Regions from separate parts of the Homo sapiens genome. Here all the other regions are linked to region 3. The links are contacts of gene promoters, found by promoter capture Hi-C in blood cells and fetal thymus (Javierre and others, 2016). All regions are on one chromosome and are shown on one strand. Each heading gives the region's core, a stretch centred on a gene start or on the middle of the fragment in contact. The rest is flanking DNA. Distances are from core to core; before and after follow the strand shown.

Region 1 (4,574 bases), core at 1,934-4,433, 390 kb before region 3:
GGTAGAGAGTTTATTTTGGGCCAAAGCTGAGGACTACGGCCTCAGACACACTGGGAAGTGCCCTGGAGAACAAAGGAGAGACTGGAGTTTTTAAAGAAAAAAGGATCGGGCTGGACGTGGTGCCTCACGCCTGTAATCCTAGCATTTTGGGAGGCCGAGGTGGGTGGATCACTTGAGATCAGGAGTTCAAGACCAGCCTGGCCAAACATGGTGAAACCCTGTCTCTACTAAAAATACAAAAATTAGCTGGGCATGGTGGCACGTGCCTGTAATCCCATCTACTCAGGAGGCTGAGGCAGGAGAATTGCTTCAACCTGGGAAGCGGAGGTTGTAGTTAGCCAAGATTACGCCATTGCACTCCAGCCTGGGGGACAAGAGTGAAACTCTGTCTTGAAAAAAAAAAAAGAAGGAAAGGAAAAAGGATGAATCAGGCTGAGCACAGTGGCTCACACCTATAATCCCAGAAGTTTTGGGAGGCTGAGGTGGGAGGATTGCTAGAACTCAGGAGCTGGAGACCAGCCTGGGCAACATAGTGAGATCCCTATCTCTATTTAAAAAAAATCAGCCGGGCATGGTGGTGTGTGCCTGTAGTCCCAGCTACTTGGGAGGCTGAGGCAGGAAGATCGCTTGAGCCTGGGAGATGGGGGCTGCAGTGAGCCACAATCACATCACTGCACTTTAGCCTGGGCCATAGAGCAGGAACCTGTCTCAAGGAAAAAAAAAAAAGTATGAAACAGGAGAGAAGCGATTACAGAAGTTATGTTACAGGAATTCTCATTGGTTTATTGAAATCACATTGATTAGAGTATGAGTTATGGTATCCAGCGAATGGCATGGTTAGGTTAATTTATGGCTGTTGGTGTTGATAGTCAGTCTAGGGTCCCAATAGCAGGTGGCTTTAGGGGCGGGTGGGGGAGGGGGCTTGTAACTGCCATCACATTTCAATGCCTCTCTGGGCCTGATGATTTAAAGGGGGCTCTCGGCAGGGCACAGTGGCTCACGCTTGTAATCCCAGTACTTTGGGAGGCCGAGGTAGCAGGGGATCACCTGAGGTCAGGAGTTTGAGACCAGCCTGGCCAACATGGCGAAACCCCATCTCTACCAAAAAATACAAAAATTAGCCAGGCCTGGTGGCGGGCACCTGTAACCCTAGCTACTCAGGAGGCTGAGGCAGGAGAATTGCTTGAACCTGGGAGGCAGAGGTTGCAGTGAGCTGAGATTGCACTACTGCACTCCAGTCTGGGCGACAGAGTGAGACTCCTTCACAAAAAAACTAAAATATAATAAAACAAAGTCAGCTAATTAGCAAACTTCATTTCATCTTCAACCTTCATTCCCTCTTGCCACGTAACATAACATATTCACAGGTACCAGGGATTAGGACATGGACATCTTGGGGGAGGCATCATCCTGCTACCACAGTGAGGATGCTACTTTGAACAGGGTGGTCAGGGAGGGCTTCTGTGAGTAGCTGGCATTGAAAGGAAGATCTGAAGCATAAGAAGGAGCTGACAACATCAAGTGGCAGCTTCTCAGGCAGAGGGAGTGCCACGTGCAAAGGCCCCGGGGCAGAGAAGAGATGGGTGTGTTTAGGAGCAGGTGGGATCTAGAGTGGCTACAGCACACTAAGGGGAAGAGTGACCCCAGGTGAGGCTCAGAGGGAGGCTGGGATCAGATAGTGCAGGTGCACTGGTTTTCTCTCCCAGCCTAGGTCATCATAATTAGTGTGATTTCCATGCCATTGTCAAACACAAGCTTGATTCTGTGTGTGAGATGGCTGTGTTTTAACAATGTGTGATTCTTGTAGATTTGTTCACGAAGTTGTTTGAGATCTGGCTGTAAGACACAGGCAATTGTTACCCATTCATAAGGTCACTTTTTCTTTTTTTTTTTGAGACAGAGTCTCACTCTATTGGAGTGACTGGTGCGATCTCGGCTCACTGCAACCTCCACTTCCTGGGTTCAAGTGATTCTCCTGCGTCAGCCTCCAGAGTAGCTGGGATTACAGTTGTGCACCACCACACCTGGCTAATTTTTGTATTATTAGTAGAGATGGGGTTTCACCGTGTTGGTCATACTGGTCTCGAACTCCTGACCTCAGGTGATCCACCTGCCTCGGCCTCCCACAGTGCTGGAATTACAGATGTGAACCACCACGCCCAGCCCCAGTCACCTTTTAAATTTACTGAATAGACTGATTCATCCTTCTAAGAGAAGGGATAGCCAGGTGCAGTGGCTCACACCTGTAATCCCAGCACTTTGGGAGTCTGAAGTGGGTGGATCTCTTGAGCCCAGGAGTTTGAGACCAGCCTGGGCAACATGGTGAAATCCTGTCTCTACAAAAAATTAGCTGGACGTGGCTGGGCGCGGTGGCTCACGCCTGTAATCCCAGCACTTTGGGAGGCTGAGGAGGGCAGATCACGAGGTTAGGAGATCAAGACCATCCTGGCTAACACGGTGAAACCCCATCTCCACTAAAAAAAAAAAAAATACAAAAAATTAGCTGGGCATGGTGGCAGGCACCTGTAGTCCCAGCTACTCGGGAGGCTGAGGCAGGAGAATGGCGTGAACCCAGGAGGCAGAGCTTGCAGTGAGCCGAGATATAGCCACTGCACTCCAGCCTGGGTGATAGAGCAAGACTCCGGCTCAAAAAAAAAAAAAAAATTAGCTGGACGTGGTGGTGCATGCCTGTAGTCCCAGCTTCTCGGGAGGCTGAGGCAGGAGGATTCACACCCAGGAGGCGGAGGTTGCAGTGAGCTGAGATCGTGTCACTACACTCCAGTCTGGGTGACAGCACGCAACTCTGTCTCAAAAATAAATAAATAAATAAATAAATAAATAAATAAATAAATAATAAATAAATAAATAAAAATGGTAACCCTAGTTTGCATAATGGTTTTGAGCTATGAACCTAGACTTAAAGGGAATACATTGAATAAATCGAATGACCATGGAGAATTAGATGAGACCTGTTGTAACCAAGTGACTTGTTTTCTTATTTTGTGTATTTGGGTCTCAACTTCCCCAAAGAAATTTATCCAGGTGTGGCATGTAGTATTAGCAATAGCACAGACATTTCCTTATCCAACCAATAAATAATATAGAGCAAATTCATCATCTAGTATCCCACAACTGGGATGCATTAAAGCCGAGTGAACAACAGTTCTATTAGGGATGTTGCCAAAGTTACCCACTAGGTGGCCTAAAGGATCTCTTAGGTCAGGTTCTGTCAAGTTACCAGCAGAAGCTACTGATTGGGAAGTTTCAGTTGCATCATTATCCTGCCAAGTGGAAAAAATTGGCATAAGCAGGGAAGAATTAAGAGGGACAAGAGGCTCATGATGGGGACTCTTGTTCTGTTGTCTTGGGAAAAGCCACCCACAGCATGAAGCCATCAACTGCTTGTCCTGGTTTACAGTTAGACTGTCTCTGCTCATGGCATGAGGCAGTCCAGTGAACTTTCTATATGGTCCATAGATCACACACAAGACTCATCCCTTAAAATTCATTTAGTTTCAGCTTATAGTGCCTTAGGAACAGAGCAATTCCCATTCTTAGTATTCTATGGAAGAAAGTTGGATTGGAGGAACCAAAAATAATTTAGGGTCAGGTGGGTACGGTGGCTCACGCCTGTAATCCCAGCATCCCGTGCACGCCTCAACCAGGGTAAAAATCTTTATGCTGTATGCAGGCAGATGTGCACAGAAATAGAACTAAAAATGGTCTATAACTGATTCCCTTGAGCTCGCAAGTCCCCACTCTTGCTCACGGCAAAAGAGAGAAAGGAAATAACACCAGGAACATGCTCATCAGAGCTAACTCAGCCTCTTCAGTCTTCCAAAACTCCCTTCCTCATTAACGCGTCAAGATTAAAGTTCAAGTTCAGGTTCAAGTTCCGATCAAGTGTCTCTCCCTGCTCCTTTCTGAGATGCTGCTAGGGTGCGGGGTAACTAGGGCACCCTCCTGGCTCCTGCCTCTCAGCCATGGCCAGGGCGGTTCCTGGACCTTCCGTCCTGGTGTCCACGAGGCGATACCATCATGCATTATTCTCAACCTCCAGCCCAGGGCTCCCAGCCTGGCCTCTGTACCCCAATCTCAGTCTTTTGATTCATCAGGGCCTGGGCTGCTTTTCCCACTCCACACTAGAGAGTGTAGGCTGGGTGTAGCCTCACACTAGATCTGTGAGGCTGCCTTCCAGGCCACTGTCCTAGACCCTTTCCTGGCCATTTCCAAAGCATGCCTGAGCAGCCCCTGTCGTTCTGCTGCCATGCTCACCGCAGGCCTTGCTACCACTGTGTTAACCCCGAGGAGGGAATCAGGACGCTGACATCTGATCTCCTGTGTCTTCCTACTGATGGGAACTTCCCTAAGTCACACCTTCAGACCCTGTGCACTGCTTATAATCCAAGTCCAGGATTCTGTTATTTACGTCTTAAAGCAGAGCCTTTGGAATTTAGAAAATCTCTTTTTTCTCTGAAAGCTCAGTTTCAAGACTACCGAATCACATGCACTTGGAGTCAGTCTTAATACTTAAAAGTGAAAGCGTCTTTCTTTCTCATCACCTACCTACTATG
Region 2 (4,739 bases), core at 1,625-4,124, 390 kb after region 3:
GACATGTGCGGTCTGTTCCTCTCCAGAGCTCTGGCTTGTATAGGAAGTTTCGAGCTTTTTCTGTCTGGGCGCTGAACCCTCTGGAACCTCTCTGGGGACTTAAGGCCTGGTGGGGAGCCTTGGGCCTCACAATACCTTTCCTGCTGGGCTTGGAGCTCCTGGCCTGTGTTCAGTCCAGAGAGCCTCGCCCCAGCAAGGGTCAATGAGCAAGATCCTAAGAAGTTAAACAGGAAATAGGACTCCAGGATCCGCCGGGGAAGACCCCACTTCAGGTGTGCAATCCTCCTCCGCATGAGGGACTCCAGGAGCAGTCGTTTGCTCTTCTTGAGGCCTGTCCCCTTGGGCAGGACAGTGAGGGCGGTGGGAGGACCCGCTAGAATGATGGCAGCTTCCGGGGCTGGGCCACACGGGAGACAGGAGCAGGCAGAGGGCATGCCCAAGGGAGCTGTCAGAGACGGAGGGTTTTGGGACTGCCGAGTCAGGCTGGGGGCCTTCTCTGGATCCACCCCTTTGTCCCTTTGTCGTCTTCTCCAGGATTCAGGTTGGGCCTGCTGGGAGGCTGGACTGATCCCCACTCTATGATCCCTGGCAGGGGTTGTGCCCTGGCTGGCCAGATGCTCTCCCTCCCCACCCACCAGCAGGAAGACTTCACCCCAGTGGGGGACAGGATTCATCTCAGGACAGGGGGCAGAGATGAAACCATTCACAGCCACTGCCTGTTCCTGTTCCCGGGTCCCACATCCATAGCCAGTGAAGGCTGGAGGCCATGGTAGGCTGTGCTTCCTGCCTGTGGGCCTCTCACTCCCAGAACAGTCGACTTGGAGACTGTCCCTCACAGCATCCTCTCCTCTGACCAGATCCTTGTTTCCTCCCCTTGGTGCTCGAGGCTCTCCAACATCCTCATCTGTGCACTTTCTCTGGCTTCCTATATCCTGGAGTTCTGCAACATCCTCAACTCCACCGTCATTCTTATTTCCTTGCCCTTGTACCTGGATCTCTTCAGCAATTTCAACTCTTAACTGTCCCTGGTCATCTCCTGCAGGAGCCTGGGTCTCTGTACCATCATCAGCTGTGGTCCCTCTCAGGTTTCTCTTCCCCTGTATTTGAATTTCTTCATCATTCCCACCTCCACCCTGTTCCTGGTTCTTCCACTCTGATAAACGGGTCTTTCCATTATCTTTACTTTTTAACAGTCTGTTTCTTCGCTCTAAGCCTCCAGTTTTTTCCCCTAAGCCTCCAGATCATTCTACCGTCCTCGTTTCCAACCTCTCTCTGGTTTCTCTTCTCTGATGCCTGATTTTCTGCAACATCCTTTCCAATCAGCTCCCAGTTCCTCCTCCCTGGTGAATGGCTCCCTCCAATTTCACTATCTAACTGGTCCTCGTTCTCTCTCTTAGGTCTCTGAGTCTTTACACCGTCCTCACCTCCAGGTTCTCTCTGGTTTCTCTCCACTGGAGCCTGAATTTCTGTTCCATTCTCACTTCCCATCTGCTTCTGGCTCTTCCACTCTGATAAAAGGATCTTTCTACCAAGATCACTTCTAAACTGACTCTGGGTTTCTTTCCCAGGTGCCCAGGTCTTTACACCGTCCTCACCTCCAACTTCTCTCAGGTTTCTCTTCCCTTGTATCTGAATTTCTGCCCCATTCTCACCTCCAATCTGCTGATCTTTCTTCCATTCTGCTGAATGCATTTCTCCATCAATTTGACTTGTTAATTTGCCCCAGTTCCCTGACTCAGATATCTGGGTATGTGCACCATCTTCGCCTCTAATATGTTCCTGATTCTTCCCCTTTGGTATGTGAATCTTTCCACTAAATTCATTTCCTAACTGACCCTGATTTTTCCTCCCAAGTTCCTGGGTGTCTTTATCATCCTCACCTTTAACCTCTCTCCTCCCTAGTGACTGAATGTCTGTACCATCCTCTTCTCTAAGTGGCTCATTGCTCTGAGTCTCCACATCAGTTTCACCTTTTAATTGTTCCTGGATCTCAGCCTCGGGTGCCAGGATATTTGTGCCATCCTCACATCCATCCTTTCTTTGGTCTCTCTTCTCTGATGCCTGAATTTCTGCTCTATGTTCACCTCCAATCCAGTTCTGATTCTCCCAACATAGTATCTCAAATTCTCTATAAATTTCACTTGCTACTTGTCTCCGGTTTCCCCACCATAGTGCCTGGATCACCACCCAATCCTTCTCTTATCTCCCTGAGCTTCTTCTTGGTAGCTATCTGGGTTTCCTTAGCATCTTCATCTCTTCTCAGGCCCTTATTTCCCCACCCCACTTGAATTTCATGACTTAATTGTTTCTGGTTCTCTCCCCCAGATGCTTGGGTCTTCTTAGCTTTCTTACTTCCACCTTGATCATGCTTCTCCCACCTTGGTGTCTGGATCTCTGTAACATTCCCATTTCCAACACATTCCTGTTTTCCCCAATCCAAGGCCTGGGTCTCTACACTATTCTCTTTTTTTACTTCTCCCACGTTCTCCCTCCCACATGATTGGGTTTGTGCAGCATCCTGACCTCCAACCTGATCCTTGTTTCTCCCCTCTTCCATCTGAATTTCCACATCCGCATCACCTTTCATCTGATCTTGTTTCTCCCACTGTGGTGTCTGGGTCTCCTCACCATTCTCATCTCCAGTCTGGCCTTGCTTCCCCAATCCTTGAGCCTGGATCTCTTCCCCATCCTCCTCTCCAGCCTCTTTCTTGTCCTTCTTCTCAAATGTCTGGGTCTCCACAGCATCCTCACTTCCATTCTTATCCTGGTTCTCCCACTCAGGTGTTTGGGTCTCTGCATCAATTTTACATCTTAACTGTTCTTGGTTCTCTCCCATATGTGCCTGGGTTTCAGGGAGATTCTCACCTCCAGCCTCCCTCTGGTTTCTATTCCCTAGTTCCTGAATGTTGGTTCTACTCTCAACTCCCATCCGGTCCTGGGTGTCCCACCCTGGTGTCAAGATCTCGCCATCAGTTTCACTTATTACTAGTCTCTGGTTTGCACACTCCAACACGTTAGTCTCTGCATCACCCTCCATTCCAAAGTCTACTGGGAACTACTCCCCAGATGCCTGGATTTCTGAAGCATCCTCCCGTCTGCTCCCTGTCTGGTTCACCCACCTTGGAGCCTGGGTCTCTCTACTATCCTCTCTGCCTGCTTTCTGGTTTTTACCCCCTGGTTCCCAGGCCTCTGGTCGACAGTGCCAAGACTTCCAAGTGCACATTCTCAGTGTTTGGTGGGAAGGATCAGGCAGGAGCTCTCTGGGGGCAGAACTGCAGCCTCTCAGCTGAAAGTAAGTTTGGAAGAGAGGTGGTTAAGGTCATGGAGGTGGGGCGAGACCTCACACTGATGACAGGCTCCAGTGACACCAACCTTTCCTGTGAGTGAAGCAGCAGCTGCTCCATCTCTTGACACATGTCCAAGGCAGGGCGAGTCTGACCATCATGGAGACACCAAGGCACCTGCCATGCTTTCCAGGAACTGTTCTGAGGCAGTAAACAGGTGTTTGAAATGGAGGTGGTACAAAAGATGGGCTCAGAGTGGGTGTGGACACCCGAAGGTGGGCCTGGACATGGGTGCTGTGGAGAGAGCAGGTTCTGGGCCCATGATTCCTGGAGGCTCCTCCGGTATCCCCATCTCTGCCTTTGTGCGCATTGTTGAGAATCTAGGCCCCTGGACTTTCCAGGACTGAAGAATTCAGGAGTCAGCTTGAAGACAGTTTCGCACCTCATGGAGGGCACTGCCCGCTTCTGCAGTGGCACCTGTAGATGAGAACAGAGAAGCAAAATCCTTGCACACATAATAACTTGCATAATCCGCACAGACAGAATAGTCAGGAAAGGCTTCTTGGAGGAAGTGACATTTGACTGGAGCCTGAATGAAGTAAGGGGCAAACCAAGTGACATCTGAGGAAAGAGCGTTGTAGGCAGAAGAGACATTAAGTACAAAGGCTTGAGGATGGAACAAAATTACATGTACAGGAACAGCAAAGAAGACTGTGTGGCCAGAATGGAACCAGTAATGAGGAGAGCACTGGGAGATAAGATCGGAGACAAACATGGGACAGATTATGCTGGTCCTTAGAGTCGTGATTAGGAGCGAGAATTTTATTCTGAGTTTGCCAGATAATGTAAGTATAGGAGCCATTGCAGGGTTTTGAGCAGCTAAGTGCTATGTTCTGTTTCTAAAAGTTTGTTCTGATGGCAGGGCATGGTGGCTCATGTCTGTAATCCCAGCACTTTGGGAGGCCAAGATGGGTGGATCACTTGAGGTCAGGAGTTCCAGACCAGCCTGGCCAACATGGCAAAACCCCTTCTCTACTAAAAATACAAAAATTAGCCAGCCATCATGGCGCATGCCTGTAATCCCAGCTACTCAGGAGGCTGAGGCACAAGAATTGCTTGAACCCAGGAGGCGGAGGTTGCAGTGAGCCAAGATCACGCCACTGCAGTCCAGCCTGGGTGACAGAGCGTGACTCCATCTGAAAAAAAAAAAAAAAGAAGAGGCTGGGTGCACTGGCTCACGCCTGTAATCCCAGCACTTTGGGAGGTCGAGGTGGGCGGATCACAAGGTCAGGAGATTGAGACCATCCTGGCTAACACGATGAAACCCCGTCTCTACTAAAAATACAAAAAAAAAAAAAAAATTGGCCAGGCATGGTGGCGGGCACCTGTAGTCCCAGCTACTCAGGAGGCTTAGGCAGGAGAATGGCATGAACCCGGGAGGTGGAGCTTTCAGTG
Region 3 (5,013 bases), core at 2,277-4,776:
GACTGGGAGGCTGAGGGCCTTCCCCGAGCCTTTCTGCTGATAGGGAAGGCAGAGAAACTGAGAGCATCACCATTTCTTCAGTTAGTGCTTTCTCCTTTCTGTAATTCCTGTAAGAAAGGAAAGCAGCAGTGAACTGGGCAACAGCGTAGTCTTCCATCCGCAGACTGAAAGAATTCCACAAAGTGCTTCTATCAAACATGGCAGGAGAAAGGCAGCTTTGAGCACGTTTGGTTGTTCATGCGCACGTTAACTGGGCATTCACCACAGGCCAGGCACTGGGGGCCGCAATGTATAAAAAACGTCCCCTGCCAGCAAGAAGCTCAGAGTCTAGTAAAATTTTGCTTTGTGTGTGTTTAGCCACATAATACCGAGTATTTGAAGAGAGGTACTGGTTGCTTAGAGGAAGGAGCCGTCAACTTTCAAATGAAAGGAGGAACGAAGACTTCAAAGACACTGTAGAATGGGTGGAATTAAGACCCAGAGCTCTGGGAAGGAGCCTTCCATGTGGGAGGAACAATGAGCCAATGTTTGGGGGTGGGTATGAGTGTGAAAACTCAAGAAATGGTGAATACTGGGAATCGGTGTGTGGCTGGAAATATGGAAGATGAGACTGGAATAAGAGGTGTGACCAGATTATGGCAAGCCTTGAATGCCAGGCTAAGGAACAGGAGTGTCCTCATCTCTTGACAGAATGCCATGCAGCACATATTAGAGCACATGAAGTTGGCTGGGCGCAGTGGCTCACGCCTGTAATCACAGCACTTTGGGAGGCCAAGGTGGGTGGATCACCTGAGGTCGGGAGTTTGAGACTAGCCTGGCTAACATGGAGAAACCCCGTCTCTACTAAAAATACAAAATTAGCCAGGCACAGTGGCGCATGTCTGTAATCCCAGCTACCCGGTAGGCTGAGGCAGGAGAATCGCTTGAACCTGGAAGGCAGAGGTTGCAGTGAGTCGAGATCATGCCATTGCACTCCAGCCTGGGCAACAAGAGCGAAACTCCGTCTCAAAAAACAAACAAACGAAAACATTAGCCACCAAGTGGGCCAATTCATTAATGCTTCTGCCCCCAGTGTCCAAATGCTGCTACCAGGCCAGACTGCATCACAGACAGATGCTCCACCCTGCTTCCTGCTCCATCTAGGGTAAAGCAAGTCTTACCTGTTAGTCATCATCATCATCATCCTCTGGAACAAAAATGTCATGTTCCTCAAGTAGAGCAGCAAAGTTCTTGCTAATGAGTGTCCCGACATAGAGAAAGGGGATCACAATGGAGAACACACGGAGAAGGCCGAAGGACATCTGCAGAGGGTCAGAGTGGCAGCTGTGAGCTCCAGAGCCCACTCTGGCAGGACCAAAGAAGACCTGGCCCTCTCACAGACATACCCTCAGACCCATCATAAGCAACTTGATTTTAAAGTCCTTGGAAAAATTCAGGGCAAGAAAAGTAATTAGAAAAGGAGAAGGCCAGGCAGGGTGGCTCACACCTTTAATCCCAGCACTTTGGGAGGCTGAGGTGGGTGGACCACCTGAGGTCAGGAGCTTGAGACCAGCCTGGCCAACATGGTGAAATCCCGTCTCTACTAAAAATACAAAAAATTGACCCAGCATGGTGGTGCGCACCTGTAATCCCAGCTACTCGGGAGGCTGAGGCAGGATAATTGCTTGAATCCAGGAGGCAGAAGTTGCAGTGAGCCAAGATTGCACCATTCCACTCCAGCCTGGGAGACAGAGTGAGGCTCTGTCTAAAAAAAAGACAAAAGGCCGGGCGCAGTGGCTCACACCTGTAATCCCAGCACTTTGGGAGGCTGAGGCGGGCGGATCACGAGGTCAGAAGTTCGAAATCAGCCTGGCTAACATAGTGAAACCCCGTCTCTACTAAAAATACAAAAAATTAGCCGGGTGTGGTGGTACATGCCTGTAGTCCCAGCTACTCAGAAGGCTGAGGCAGAAGAATCACTTGAACCCGGGAGGCGGAGGCTGCAGTGAGCCAAGATTGTGCCACTGTACTCCAGCCTGGGTGACAGAGTGAGACTCCGTCTCAAAAAAAAAAAAAAGGAGATAAGGTGACTGTTATGGCCATCAAAATGGACGAAAAGTCCACTGGAAAGAAAAGTCTAAGGCACCCTAGACATCTAAAGTTAGGACACAGCCTGCTAATTACTTTAAATCCCTACAGGCAATCGGGTGCACCAGTACTAGGAGGGCCAGACTACGGTGAGCTCTGCCTGAACACGAAATACACGAAAACCGATGACAGAAAGATGTACAGTGAAGGGATATTCTACACAGTTCACTAAGTAACAGGTTCCCTGATGCCTGAGAAATTTGATTTAAAAATTTTAGAAACAGATGTATTTGAAAGTGGGCATGTATTTACACTCAAAGACTTTAGATGGATTGGGAGAATGTCAGTAAAATCTCAGCAACATTTCTCTCGTATTCCTAGAATTAAAAAAATTTTTTTTTCAACTGTTTTGATAAGGCAGGTCTTTCCCAACATGGACCTACAGTCAATTGTGTGAGTTAGCATAGGCTAGACTAGCTTTAAGAGAATTTGTTTTTTTAACTCCCACACCACACAGCCCTGCAGTCGTAAAGCAAACTTTCGCTTGATATAAGGGACTGTTTCCGTTTTCCCTAGAAAAACTCAAGCATGTGATAGCGTTCAGTGTTGGAAAAAGACAGGACCTGGTGGGGACGGTACCAGGAAGAAACCCGGATGCTGCGTCCTCAGCGCTGGCCTTGGATACGAGCTTCACCGCTCTAGCCCGATTCTTCATTTGAAAACCCGTGATTGTAATAATTCCCTGCACATCTATCAGGACTGTAAATCACATGAATTAAATATTAGGTGACAACTAATAAAAAGATGAGGCCCGTCCCACGTACCCTTTATTTACAGAGTCCTTTCAAAATTCATATTTCATCCCATAAACTAGGAGACAGGCAGGGCAGAGATTACAGGACTGCTCTAAGCTAGAAGCACACGGCCTAGTCTTCTGACTCCAGAGGAGCAGAGCACCGCACCTCTCAGGACAAGCTAATGTAAAAGGCCAACTTCCTCAGCGTTTGCCCCCCATCTTCTGTCTACCTACCATTTTCTACACACCTGTCAAAATTAGCAACTCATTAGCGTATTCTTGGTCCGCCTTCCAGTCTACGGTAATCGTTATGATTGGCCTTGGCTCCTATCAATCAGCGCCGCCCTCACGCACTCCCCACAATGATTGGCCTCAGCCCCTTCGCCCCGTCTCCAGGAGGACACTCACTTTCACCGGTTTGGGCAAAATGGCGCCGCTGCGGGTAACGATGACTGACCTCGACGGTACCAGGCTCCGGCCTGAGCCGCTCCATGCGGCGGAGACATCGCCATCTTTCCTCAAGCTAGGCCCGCTCCGGAGAGCCCCGGACCTGACGGGTGCCAATACTAGCCAGCGAGCCGCTCCGGACGCCATGCCCCCAGCTCCGCCCCTCACCCGGGCACCCGCACCCCACCGCCCAGCCCTCGTGCCGCCCTCGGGAAGAAAGCCGCCCGAAGCCTCGCGAGAGTTTGAGGAGTACACGAGAAGCCCAGCCCTCCCACTCGCGCAGTGCCGGCGGCTCCTGGGGCGGCGGGAGGGAGGTGTTTGTCACTGGCCGGCATGGTGGCGTCACGAGAGTGGCGGCGCAGCCCCGGCTCCCTCAGTCCGCGTCCTGCTGGGCGTGGCCGCGGTCTTGGGTCCGCCCGGCCGTCAGAACAGGCCTCAGCGGCCGGTTGTGGAAATAAACCCAGGGAGCGGAAGGAGTAATAACGAAAAAGCTTTACTAGTGTTTTAACCGTGTACAAAACACTGTAGCAATAAGAGAAAGGCCCGTGCTATCTGTGTTTAAACAAAATGCAGTGGCTGCGGGGCTTCCAGGCAGGGCTGGGGAACAGGCCGGGCGCCCGCCTTGGGCGCATCTCCGCCTCTTAGGGGTAAGAGGCTCAGAGCCTACCCCTTAGGCCTAGTTGGATGCGGGTCGGTCCTGCCCAAGGCCCCAGTGAGGGGAGCCGAGGCTAGGAAGGGGCAAGTTTTATGTGTTTGGGAGGGGGTGTCTCTTCCCGGCCTCTGCGTCTTCCCCCTGGAGCGTCAGTATGGTCAGGCTCTGGTGACCCAGCCGCTTTGCCTCCCGACTTTGGGAAGAGTAGCAAGGAGAGGTCCTGGCAAGTACACCCTGGGTGACAAACGGCTATGAGAGTTCCCAGGTGATTTCTCGAGCAGCTTCAGTTTACCGGAGCCCAGCCAGGAGAGAGAATTTTAGCACAGGAAACGCAATCCCGTGTCCAAGCTCCTAGAATACCCAGGACTGAGAACCAAAGCAACAGACTTTTCCCAGGGAGCCACACTGCCTCCCCACCTCTTCTTTAACCCCTCACTTGGCAGCTCCAGGAGTTGGCTGCTGAAGACAGAGTACAGGAGGGCATTTCGTTGACGTAAAAAAGCTACAAGCCCCTTCCGGGGCAAGGTCCAGCACCATCTGTTAACAGGGCAGCCAGGGAGAAAGGATGGGACCCCAGCACTCTGAGCAGAATAAATCTCTCTTCACTGGCCGAAGACCCTCTGCCTCAAAGGGCCCTACCCAGACTGCTGAGTGAGGATCCCATCCCCAATCTTCCCACCCCTCTCAGGAAGAGCTGGGTCCCAGAAACTCCTATGACACAATAAATCCACTTTCTCTGACAGTGTCAGAGCTTCAAGCCGATACTGCAGCCTACCTCGGATTTAAGTGCACAGGAGACTCCCCAGGTTGGAAATTATGGCTCTAGAGCCCGGTGTGTAGGCCAAAGGTATGGCAAGCCTGTGACAGTCTCGGGTGACATTCCCCACTTCCTTCATTTCATTAACATCCCCTGGGAGGGGGCAGTCAGGCCAGTGCAGTCAGGAGATTGGGGTCTTGCTCTGTGGCTGCTAAGTCTCCTTCCTTCTCTGGACCTCAGGAAATAAAGAGGATGGAAGGAATGGTCCCGCAGTCCCTTCCAGACACACGGGTG
Region 4 (4,444 bases), core at 58-2,557, 300 kb before region 3:
CTGGCTAATTTTTTGTATTTTTAGTAGAGACAGGGTTTCACCACGTTGGCCAGGATGGTCTCAAACTCCTGACCTCAAGTGATCCGCCTGCCTCAGCCTCCCAAATTGCTGGGATTACAGGTGTGAGCCACCACACCTGGCCATCCTTCATTCTTTTAACAACATTTGTCCCGCTCCAACTATGTGTCAAGCCCAGTGCTGTGGCTGGAATAAGAAATGGACAGTCCTGTCTTCATGGAGTCCACCAGCTCATTTCTGATTGGCTCCTACTGGCCCAAAGTCACCCCAGCTCCATTCATGCTTCCATCTATGGCTGCTGTTCCCCAAGATGCTGAGCTCCCCACCTCTGAGTCTGGGCTCCTACCATTCTCCCTGCCCTGAGGACCTGCACCCTATTCTTTGCCTGAGGAATTCCTGCTCAAATGCTACCTCCAGCTGGGCACAGTGGCTCACGCCTACAATCCCACCACTTTGGGAGGCCAAGGCAGGCAGATCACCTCACGTCAGGAGTCGGAGACCAGCCTAGCCAACATGGCAAAACCCCATCTCTACTAAAAATACAAAAATTAGCCGGGTGTGGTGGCACATACCACAGATATCAGCCACAGAGTAAAACTCCATCTCAAAAAAAAAAAAAAATGCTACCTCCACTGTGAAGTCTTCCTTAAAGCCCCCTCCCACACCAAGCAGTTTACTGAATCCTCTCATTTCTTTGACCTCTTCAAACTGAATCAGTTCACACACATCCATCTCCCCCCAGAATTCCCGTGTTTCCCAAGCATGGCAAACACCTCATTTGTCTCTCTTTGTCTGTGCCTGACTCACAGTAGGGGCTTAGGAGCTGTTTGTTCAAAAAATAAAGGAGTCTTTTCCTTTGCTGTTGATTCAACACCTGTTCTTAGTGAAAAAGGGATAATTTTTTTTTTTATTTCCAGGAAGTGATCTTTAATTAGTATATGACCCATTTTACATATGTGAAAATTGAGGCAGACTGTTGCTGCACCCACAACACCAGGAGAAGCAAGGCAATAAGAAGTGCAGGCTCTGGAAGGCCGGCAGCCTCCGCCTAATGGGGAGGGCGGGGAGGCTCTGTGCTGAGCTGTTGGAGGCGAGGCCAGGCACAGGGGAAAGGCCGACATCCCCCTCCCCCACCTCCTTTCAATTCCTGGCTGCCAAGGCTGTCAAGAGGCTCTGAGGACACGTGCCTGCGTCAGGGGCCATGAGCCCTGTTAGGGTGGTTCTGCTAATTGATCCCAGAAGCCCTTGTGACTGCCAGGGGATGCCTCAGCGGACTCAGCAATGTCCTGACCGCTACCTCTCGCCTCACCAGATGGCCTCCCTCCTGCCTCAGCTGCCTCTAGGCCAGGCCACATGTCCCTGATCATTCAGGGCCTGAGACTCCCCCAAGTAGCCAGCAGAACAGAGCCCGGCCAGGGGTGGTGGCGGGGGTGTGTGGGGAGCACTGGAGAAGCTCCTTTTTTTCTGTGTCTCTCTGGCTGATTGGATGGTTTTCCAAAAAGAAAAATTTTAATGTGTTTTCGGTTTGGTTTTTTTTTTTTTTTTTTTTTTTTGAGACAGGGTCTCACTCTGTCATCCAGGCTGGAGTGCAGTGGTGCGATCACAGCTCACTGCAGCCTCAACCTCTGTGCTCCAGCGGTCCTCTACCTCAGCCTCCGGAGTAGCTGGCACTACAGGTGCGCACCATCACACCTGGCTAATTTTTTGTATTTTTCATAGAGACCGGGTTTTGCCGTGTTGCCCAGGCTGGTCTCAAACTCCTGAGCTCAAGCGATCCTGCCACCTTGGCCTCCCAAATGCTGGGATTACCGGCATAAGCCATTGCTGCTTAGCCAGCACTCAGCCTCAAATGCCCCCACAACTTCCTCCAGCAGCCCCACAATCTCCTGCCCCTTATGGGTGGGGAACCCTGGCATGTCATGTGACGGGGGTGGAGTCAGGAGAGCTGCTGTCCTTCCTGACCCATTGGGACAAGTCTGTGCAGCTGAGTCCCAGGGATAAGGGTAGGACCCACAGCCAAGTGACCAGTTCCAGAAATAGAGATGGTCATTGTGGTGCTCAAGGCACCCCTGCCTTCTTCCTGGGTTCAAGCCTGGAGCTCAAGATTGGAGTTCAAGGTTGCAGAGAGCTTTAGAACTGCTAATGGGGGCCAGGCGCAGTGGCCCACGCCTGGCCAACATGGGTGAAACCCTATCGCAACTAAAAATACAAAAATTATCCAGACAGCCGGGCACGGTGGCTCACGCCTGTAATCCTAGCACTTTGGGAGGCCAAGGCAGGTGGATCATCGAGGTCAGGAGTTCGAGACCAGCCTGGCCAACATGGTGAAACCATATCTCTACTAAAAATATAAAAATTAGCTGGGCGTGATGGTGGGCGCCTATAATCCCAGCTACTCAGGAGGCTGAGGCAGGAGAATTGCTTGAACCCAGGAGACTGAGGTTGCAGTGAGCCGACAGGGTGCCACTGCCCTCCAGCCTGGGCGACAGAGTGAGACTCTGTCTCAAAAAAAAAAAAAAAAAAAAAGAACTGCTGGCCGGGCACGGTGGCTCACACCTGTAATCAGCACTTTGGGAGGCCAAGGTGGGCGGATCATGAGGTCAGGAGATCGAGACCATCCTGGCTAACACGGTGAAACCCCACCTCTACTAAAAATACAAAAAATTAGCCGGGCGTGGTGACGGGTCCGTGTAGTTCCAGCTACTTGGGAGGCTGAGGCAGGAGAGTGGCGTGAACCCGGGAGACAGAGCTTGCAGTGAGCCGAGATAGCGCCATTGCACTCCAGCCTGGGCGACAGAGCAAGACTCTGTCTCAAAAAAAAAAAAAAAAAAAAGAACTGCTAATGGGTATGGGGATTTTTTATGAGGTAATGGAAATGTTCTGGAATGCGACAGCAGTGATGGTTACGCAACCTCTTGAATATGCTAAAATCCATTGAATTGTACACTTTAAAAGGGTAAATTTATAATATGTGAATTGCATTTCAATAACACAAAACAAAAATAAACCAAAAAAAATTGCCCTACTTAAACACTTTCTGTTGTCCCCTGTTCATTACCCTTAGGACAGAGCACACACACACTTCCCTGGGACGTGGTTCAGCTTCTTCCTCCACCCAGCCTGCCCTGCCCGTACCCTTTCCTGCCCTTCCTCCTTTCCTCCTACAGAAGGGCCCTGCTGGGGCCTCTTTCAAGGTCCAGGCTCTGGCGCATGAAACTCCCTCTACCTGTCAGATGGTTAAATGCCTATTCAGTTTTTATCTGTGGCAATAAGTAGGCATTGATCTCATTTCACAGATGAGGAAACTGAGCCTTAAAAAGATATAACAACTCGCCCAAAGTCACCTAGCTGGCAGATGGTGCAGTTGAGATTCAGGCCCCAGCAGTGGCTTCAGAATCCATGATCTGAACCACTTTGGTTGGTGGCTTTCTGTGGTAGCCTGAAGAATCCCACCCTCGCCAAGATATCCACATCCTAATCCTGGAACCTGTGAATGTTACCTTATATGACAAAGGCGCCGCAGATGTGATTAAGGATCTGGAGATGAGGAGGTTATCCTGGATCATTACAATCACAAACGCCCTTATAAAGGGGGATGCAGAGGGAGATTACAGACCAAAGGCAGAAGGTGGTGTGATGATGGAAGCAGAGAAAGAGGTCTGAAGATGGTACGCCGCTGGTTTTGAACATGGAAGAAGAGGCCACAGCCGGGGAACAGAGCCCCAGAAGCAGGAGAGGGCAAGGAAACGGATACTCCTCAAAGCTTCTGGAGGGAACGTGGCCCTGTGAACACCCTGGTTTCTGCCTGTTGAAACTGATTCTGAATTTCCGGTCTTGAGAACTGTAAGAAAATAAATGTGTGTCGTGTTGTGGGTTTTTAAAAAATAATTTTTTTCTTTCTTTTTTCTCCCGGCTTTTCAATAGGGATAACGTGTGTTGTTTTAAGTCACCAGGTTTGTGGTGATTAGTTACAGCAGCCATAGAAAATGAAGACACTGGCCAGGCTCACGCCTGTAATCCCAGCACTTTGGGAGGCTGAGGGCAGGTGGATCACCTGAAGTCAGGAGTTTGAGACCAGCCTGGCCAACATGGCGAAACCTGTCTCTACTAAAAATAGAAAAATTAGCTGGGTGTAGTGGTGCATGCCTGTAGTCCCAGTACTCAGGAGGCTGAGGCAGGAGAATCGCTTGAACCTGGGAGATGGCGGTTGCAATGAGCCAAGATTGCGCCATTGCACTCCAGCCTGGGCGACAGAGCAAGACTCCGTCTCAAGGAAAAAAAAAGAAAAGAAAATGAAGACACTTTCCCTCCTAGAAGAGCCTATTCTGCCTCCCAGGCTGGGCCCCTCTCTGAGAGGCTCTTCTGCCCCGAGGTCAGTGGCCCACCCTGTTTTGTGCTCCTTGGGGATGCTTCCTATGACCTCTGA

What was found. The method cuts DNA at HindIII sites, captures the fragments that hold promoters and counts their contacts. A CHiCAGO score of 5 or more calls a contact.
Region 1: a fragment that was not itself captured here is called in contact with the fragment with the promoter of SMDT1 in region 3 in 11 of 17 cell types (M2 macrophages, M0 macrophages, endothelial precursors and 8 more); the score reaches 11.2 in M2 macrophages.
Region 2: a fragment that was not itself captured here is called in contact with the fragment with the promoter of SMDT1 in region 3 in 1 of 17 cell types (naive B cells); the score reaches 5.2 in naive B cells.
Region 4: a fragment that was not itself captured here is called in contact with the fragment with the promoter of SMDT1 in region 3 in 2 of 17 cell types (activated CD4 T cells and neutrophils); the score reaches 5.4 in activated CD4 T cells.

What each region holds. Positions count from the first base shown.
Region 1 is chr22:42,472,333-42,476,906 of GRCh38, reverse strand. No RefSeq gene overlaps it. Among named protein-coding and RNA genes, the nearest start is that of NFAM1, 42 kb to the right of the region's middle. The HindIII fragment of the contact is 2,851 bases long and covers 1,758-4,574 here.
Region 2 is chr22:41,692,485-41,697,223 of GRCh38, reverse strand. It overlaps the pseudogene C22orf46P. Among named protein-coding and RNA genes, the nearest start is that of MEI1, 4.6 kb to the left of the region's middle. RefSeq lists enhancers at 1-341, 352-431. The HindIII fragment of the contact is 7,463 bases long and covers 1-4,739 here.
Region 3 is chr22:42,078,213-42,083,225 of GRCh38, reverse strand. It overlaps SMDT1 (single-pass membrane protein with aspartate rich tail 1), which reads right to left and starts at 3,526. Exons shown (of 3, transcript NM_033318.5): 1 at 3,272-3,526; 2 at 1,161-1,301; 3 at 1-107. The coding sequence starts at 3,457. The coding sequence ends at 1,164. PHETA2 (PH domain containing endocytic trafficking adaptor 2) reads right to left here. Exons shown (of 3, transcript NM_001002034.3): 3 at 3,788-5,013. RefSeq lists an enhancer at 3,009-3,781 and a silencer at 3,807-4,101. The HindIII fragment of the contact is 3,809 bases long and covers 1-3,803 here.
Region 4 is chr22:42,373,666-42,378,109 of GRCh38, reverse strand. No RefSeq gene overlaps it. Among named protein-coding and RNA genes, the nearest start is that of LINC01315, 6.7 kb to the right of the region's middle. The HindIII fragment of the contact is 4,953 bases long and covers 1-3,783 here.